2 separate regions of the Homo sapiens genome follow, and region 1 is linked to region 2. The links are contacts of gene promoters, found by promoter capture Hi-C in human tissues and cell types (Jung and others, 2019). All regions are on one chromosome and are shown on one strand. The core of a region is centred on a gene start or on the middle of the fragment in contact, and the rest is flanking DNA. Distances in the headings are between cores, read along the strand shown.

Evidence for each region. Contacts are between HindIII fragments. The study calls those that stand out against the background at their distance.
Region 1: a fragment that was not itself captured here is called in contact with the fragment with the promoter of YWHAQ in region 2 in 1 of the 25 tissues and cell types used here (IMR-90 fibroblasts).

What each region holds. Positions count from the first base shown.
Region 1 is chr2:9,960,168-9,963,559 of GRCh38, reverse strand. It overlaps GRHL1 (grainyhead like transcription factor 1), which reads right to left. Exons shown (of 16, transcript NM_198182.3): 4 at 2,124-2,514; 5 at 1,029-1,105. Among named protein-coding and RNA genes, the nearest start is that of GRHL1, 10 kb to the right of the region's middle. The HindIII fragment of the contact is 3,483 bases long and covers 1-3,168 here.
Region 2 is chr2:9,629,424-9,632,817 of GRCh38, reverse strand. YWHAQ (tyrosine 3-monooxygenase/tryptophan 5-monooxygenase activation protein theta) reads left to right here and starts at 1,821. Exons shown (of 6, transcript NM_006826.4): 1 at 1,821-1,877; 2 at 2,284-2,659. The coding sequence starts at 2,366. RefSeq lists silencers at 1,500-1,669, 1,720-1,819, 2,020-2,369 and enhancers at 2,490-2,589, 2,333-3,235. The HindIII fragment of the contact is 8,846 bases long and covers 1-3,183 here.

The DNA.
Region 1 (3,392 bases), core at 178-2,677, 330 kb before region 2:
AGGTGGCTGGTGTTCCTCTGACTAAATTCCTTTTGGCCTATATAGCATTTTTTTGTTGTTCCTACTTGTAATTTAAATGTCTTTAATAGGCAGGCACTCCACAATTCTCGACATTACCTATTACCTAACACTACCACTCATATATGCCCCTAAAGTTGTTTAAGAACCTTCCCAGGCCACGGCTCAGCAGATTACACCTATTTTTGTAACTAAAGTTTTATTAGCACATAGCCACATCATTTGTTTACACATTACCTATGGCTGCTTTTGCACAATGGCAGACCGGGGTAGTTGCAAAAATATACAGAGGTTGTATGGCCCACAAAGCCTGAAATATTTACTCTCTGAGTCTTTACAGAAAAAGTTAGCTGACCCCTATCCTAAACCCTAAAGGTATTTCCATTTGGGACTCCTGCATCTTGAGGCAGATCTATAAGGGAAGTCTCAATTCCCATAAAATCTTAGACACTTTTAAAACTGTAAAATATAACACATGTAAAAAACACATAAAACAAAATATGAGTTCCTAATTAACTTGGAAAATATTCATACTCCCAGAGTGAGATACAATTTTGTGAGGTCAAAAGAAAGTTGTCAGCTCAGAAAAAAGTTGACTTCATTTATTTTATCATTAGTGAGGCTGATTTTAAAAAAAAAAAGCTTTTATCACTTGATATTACTCCTAAATTCTCACCTAATTATATATATTTGGCAACAGAAAGGACCTCAGAGACCTAATTTAATCCCCTCATCTCTCCTATTAGATTCCATTCTACTACCATCACATAAAGAATCCAAAAGAAAGAAAAAGCACCAACACCAAGAATTAAGGAAACTTGAAACATAGTTCAAAGAGTTCAAAATTAAAAGCACTGAAGCAGATGTCCTCTACCCAAGACTGTACCACAGTAAAAGTAGTAAGATAAGGGGAAAGCCTGCTAAAGCCACCTTTGATTTATCAAGTTAACAAGAAAGGAATAAGTTATAAAAGCTGCAAATTAAAAATCAAATTAAAAGACATCTATTACCCAGAAACACTGTCAAAAACATAGTCCTCTGAATTCATGCCAGGCATCCGCAGACTGAGATCCGAGGGGAAGAAAACCTGAAATATCAATGTGATAAGCCACAACTATTTAACTGGTTATCATGCTTACTAAAGACCAAGCTCTGGTACCGCATAAAAGTATGTGGCTTACAGCAACCCACTATCCTTTCCATATTTATTTTTGAGTAAAAATTTTGATTCTACAAATACTTAAAAAATTAAAACAGAGAAAATATCCACTTTTATATGCCACTCAAGTAAATTACAACAAGCTGTGTAGGTACTCCCACTAAGTGCTTCTGACTCACGACCCCCTTTTCTGTCTTTCACACACATCCCAACTCTGTTCAAACACTAGGACCTGCAACCAAAATTTCATGACTTTTAAAAGTCACCCTATCATTATACCAAGTTAAGACACAGCATCAAGTTCACACCACAGCTGAAGAGATGTGGTGCATTTTCTCAGGAAAGGCTAACATTCTGCCCCTAACTCCATACGCAGAGATGGATGCTCTTTACCCCACCAAGTCACTAAGTATGGTTTCTAACACCTTTAGTCCCTAACTTTTAGCTGAGTGAGGTATTCATCACCATAAAACCCCCAGAACTATTTGGAATTAATTTGTAAACCTCACACAATGCATTTGTGCTCTCCCTGACTACATTACCAACCAAGAAACACCAAGCAAAGATATAATAACTCATTTTATATGAGCTCCAGGGAGCTTGTTTGGCACTGGGAGAAGTGCTGAAAACAGACTAGGAGAATCTACCTGTGGTCAACAGAAGATTATGTATGGGGTTCTCTTTCTCCAGCAAATCCCTTAGCTGAAATCATAATTGTTAACTCAGCTGCTGGTAAGATTAGCCTTGCATCCTTGATAATAACTTCTGGTTGTATAGGTTTAGTTTACAAATTATACCCATGGGCCTTTTCTCTTAAAAAAAAAATCTTTTATTCCTAATCCATTCATTTCAGGCTGAGTTTCATGCTTACATAACAAGGAAAAGGTGGAACCCAATACTTATACAAACACGCAGGCGTCTTAGGAAGATGTTTTTGTTTCCTTACCTCCTGAACGCCTTCCTTGAAGGTCTCTGAGAAGGTCGAGTCTGGAGTTCGCCTTTGAGCATTTGGGGCTTGAGCACCAGAGCTGAACTGGTCAGTATTGAGATTCCGATCGAAAACCACCACCCGCTCAGTGGGCTCAGGATGATACACTGCTGGGGGGATTCCCACAGCGAAGCCATGTGGCTGGGTTTCTGTCTTGATGGAGTGGGTAGGCATCGTTGCTATGGAGACAGTGACTGTCGTATCTGGAGCTGTCAGATGGCCTCTCTTATCAATGCCCAGCTGGTTGCCATGGGGAAGGACAATGTTAAATGGCACATTTTTCAGTACTTGCACTCTGTTTTCTCCAGCAGAGATGAGGGGCTGCTCTGTCACAATTGGTATGCTGTTTCTTTAAGAAAAGAAAACTGCTTTCAAACGCGATGCTGATGTAGTTCTTTGACAATTTTTATTTTCCTAATGGCATTGGGCTGTTGGGTCCTGTGCAATAACACTTGACAGAATAAACAGAAAACATCAAAACTACCCATTACTAGATAAAGGGAAAAAGGCTTTCTGGTTATCGGTCAAATAAAATCCAAACCTATTAAGTAAAATTTCATTCGAAATACTAAGGGCTCAGAGCTCTCCTCTAACAAGCTTTACTTTCCATAATCCTAAAAACAATTACTGTGTTTTACTAGAAACCTGAAGCTATGCGATCTGATCAACTGGGGTTACAGCATAGACGCCAGGGTCAAATTGCCTGGGTTCAAGTTCTGTGTCACCTGAGCAAGTTACTTCATCTCTTAGTAACTGAATCCTCATCTGCAAAATGGGGACAATAATGGCATCCATTCTCATCAGGTTGAGATGAGATGATACACTAAAAGGTGTATAATAATGCCTGACACACAGTCTTCAAGAAGTATGAGCTATTATTACTTGGTCACCACTTTTCCTACCACCTATGCCATTTGGCTTTCTCCTTTTTTTTTTTTTAATTTTTTATTTTTTTGAGACAGAGTCTTGCCCTTATGGCCCAGGCTGGTGTGCAATGGCGTGATCTAGGCTCACTGCAACCTCCGCCTCCCGGGTTCAAGCGATTCTCCCACCTCAGCCTCCCGAGTAGCTGGGATTACAGGCGCACGCCACCACACTTGGCTAATTTTTGTATTTTTAGTAGAGACTGGGTTTTACCATGTTGGCCAGGCTGGTCTCGAACTCCTGACCTCAGGTGATCCACCTGCCTCAGCCTCCCAAAGCGCTGCGATTACAGGCATGAGCCAC
Region 2 (3,394 bases), core at 572-3,071:
CCTTCTGGTAGTCCCTCTCTACCACAGAGGTTCCATCCCCTGACAATTTCCTCTCCTGGGTCTCTATCCCCCATCCACCTCCACTGGCTTCTCCCCTTGCCCGGGTTGCCTCTAATTTTGGTGAGCTTGAAATTCACTGGTCATACAGAAGGCATTTTATCTGACCTTCCACATGCAAATTCTTTCCATTGGGATTTCTCGGTGTCCAGCTCCACCCCAGCCCACAGGGCCATAAACACTCATGTGTCTGTAGCGGGGCCCCAGGGATTCCAGAAATAACAGCAGGGCCCTCCATTAGAAGGCTGGAACATAGTAAGGCATTTCTGCATTAAGACACAGGCCCTTTCCAATCCAGGCCGCTCCTGTCTGTCAAAGCACAAAGCAACCTTCACAAGTCAGGACAGGGAGGGGCAGTCAAGAGGGAGTCTGAATTTCTGGAAAGTCGGCACCTTCTCCTCCCATCTGTCTGCACTCTCAAATCTCCCATTCTAGAGATTCTCCGGATTTGCTCCAGTCTCCACTCAGAATGGGAAATTCTTTATGATCCATTCTCCTTAGACCTGCTGGAATCGGGATCATAGCAGCGTGAACCCAGAGGGCAATTCTCATCTTAAGATGGCACAGGGACCACGCGCCAGACGGGCAGGGCAGCCACCCTACCTGGATGGAGTTAGGGAACTGGGGAAGTGCAAGGAGAGACAGGAGTGGTTTAAGAGGAAAGGGAGCTGCCAGGGATGACCCTGAATGGGAGGGGCCTGGGGGAATCTTTCTCGCTTCAGCAGGGTGTTCCCCAGGAGGAGAAAATCAGAAATCAACATCCAGGGAGAGGATTTCAGCTTTTCAAGTGACCTCTCACAAATAATACCAGAAACAAAAGCGTGTGCACATGTGACAACGATGTGAAAAATGATGTATTTAGGTGCATAACCTGGAAAGCCTAAAAGATACATAAAAATTGCTTTTTTTTTGCGGGGAGAGATGTTATGGGCAGGGTTTTTTTTTGCGGGGGTGGGAAGGGGTAGTAATAGGTGTTTTCCTGCAAATTGTGCTTAATGTCATTTCTCATTTTAAAGAAAACCACAATACTTGGCATTGTCACAGAAACTCCCCTGGATCTTCTGGGACCTACCTTTTCACAAGGGAATTTTTTGTTTTAGGATGCCCATCTGAAAACTTGAATTTATCATGTAAATGCCATACTGAAGACACCGTCTCCAGAATCAATTCTTCTTTAATGGGGATGCGGTTTGCTTAATTCGGAGCCCTAATGGCAACGTCATTAAGGTCTGGGTTTAGTGTCTTGGGATCCAAACCTTTGTCACGGATAGAAAGGTGGAGGAAAGAAAGGCCCCCGTGCTCTAAAACAGCTGAATATGTCACCCTCCGAAGTCCAGCCTCGGCCAGAGCCCGTGAGATGCAATGCACCATCCGCAGCGGGAGACGCAGCCGCCGCCTAGGAGGTCGTGCGCGCCTCTGGGTCTCGTGCCGCACCCAGAAGTGCCGGGGTGGCGGGGAGGCTGAGGGGAGTTGGTAACGGCATCGCCATGGCAACAGTGACGTCCTTTTACCCTGGATCTAATTGGAGGAAACCCCGTGGCCGAAGCCGCAGCCTGCCGGCCAACCGAACTTCCCCGTACCGACCCACCCTCCTAGCCTCCGCGTTCCCTCCCGCTCCGCCCCCCTCGCCCCCTTCCGCGCGCTCGGTCCTCATTGGCCAGCGGCGCGCTGGGGGCGGGACTCTCGGGAGAAGCTCGGCGCATCATTGGGCGGTGGACCGCCCCTCGGCCCCGGGGTAGGCTGACACGGGAGGGTCCTCAGCTAAAGCCAAAAGCAGATCAAAGTGGTGGGACTCGCGTCGCGGCCGCGGAGACGTGAAGGTGAGCGCCTGGGTCGGCCCGCGGGCTTCCTCCGGCCGCGCTCGGATTGAGGGCCGGGCGGAGGTGCCGCCCTTGAGAGCAGCCGGTTGTCGATGCCGCTCCCCTCAGGGACGGCTCCGGGCGGGAAGGTGCGGGGCCAACGGTCGCTTCCATCTTGGGCCGGCCGGGCGGGGGTGGCGGGAGCGGCCGCGGCTCGGGCTCCCTGCGCGCGGGGCCTCCGCGCCGCCCCCGCCTCCTCCAGCCGCGGGCCGCGGCCTCCCCGGGTGCCCAGCGGGGGAGGGGGCGGGGGAGAGGGAAATTCAAGCGGCCGCGTGTGCGGGAGACAAAAGCGGGCGGCGGGCCGCATTGTCTGACGGCGCTCCCTCTCTGCTTTTTGTTCTCGCCTCGCCGCCCCGCCCCTCCGCAGCTCTCGAGGCTCCTCCCGCTGCGGGTCGGCGCTCGCCCTCGCTCTCCTCGCCCTCCGCCCCGGCCCCGGCCCCGCGCCCGCCATGGAGAAGACTGAGCTGATCCAGAAGGCCAAGCTGGCCGAGCAGGCCGAGCGCTACGACGACATGGCCACCTGCATGAAGGCAGTGACCGAGCAGGGCGCCGAGCTGTCCAACGAGGAGCGCAACCTGCTCTCCGTGGCCTACAAGAACGTGGTCGGGGGCCGCAGGTCCGCCTGGAGGGTCATCTCTAGCATCGAGCAGAAGACCGACACCTCCGACAAGAAGTTGCAGCTGATTAAGGACTATCGGGAGAAAGTGGAGTCCGAGCTGAGATCCATCTGCACCACGGTGCTGGTGAGTCCTCGGCGCGGGGAGCAGGGGAGGCCTTTTGTGAGATGCTTTTCATTGAGAGTTTCGCGGGCACGGAAACAAACGTGAGCCGGGGCTTGCCGGACTGTCTGCTGGGGTGGAGGGTTTTAGGTGAGCCCTGACTTCCCTACTGTGTCCCTCCGGTTGTTGAGACTCAAGAAGCCGCTTTTCCAAGGATAAGTCCTTTTTTTTCGCCCCAGATGCTGGGTAGCTACCAAACGATGGAACTTGGAAACATCCAAGTAGGTCTCTGCGAGACTGAAAGGCGTTTTTAAGTTTCTTGTGCGGGGAGACTGCGTCCTGAGATCTGTGAGCCCTTTAAATGTATTCAGTCGGTTCACAAGCTTCAGGCAGTTGAAAGAAGGCGCAGGCACCTTTTTGTTACAGACAATGTAGTAGGGATTTTTTCCCAAACCCAGTAATGGAAATTTACTTAGAAAATCTGAACAGATACTTTATTTTTCAAGTAAGAGTATCTGTTGTGCTCCCCCCCACCCCCCATAAACAGGAGAGGAGGGGAGTTCGGGAAATGTGAAAAGGACACAGCTGTATCTGAAGAACACAATGTCCTGGTAAATTTCAACATTTAATAACATTTCCTTGCTGTTGCACACCTGTGCTTAAACACTAGTGTTGAAGTGAATTCGTTTCCAGTGTGGAGCAGACAAGGAAAGCTTTCCAGGTTTTGAACTGTCCAGTCTTAGCAAGGACGATTGTTGG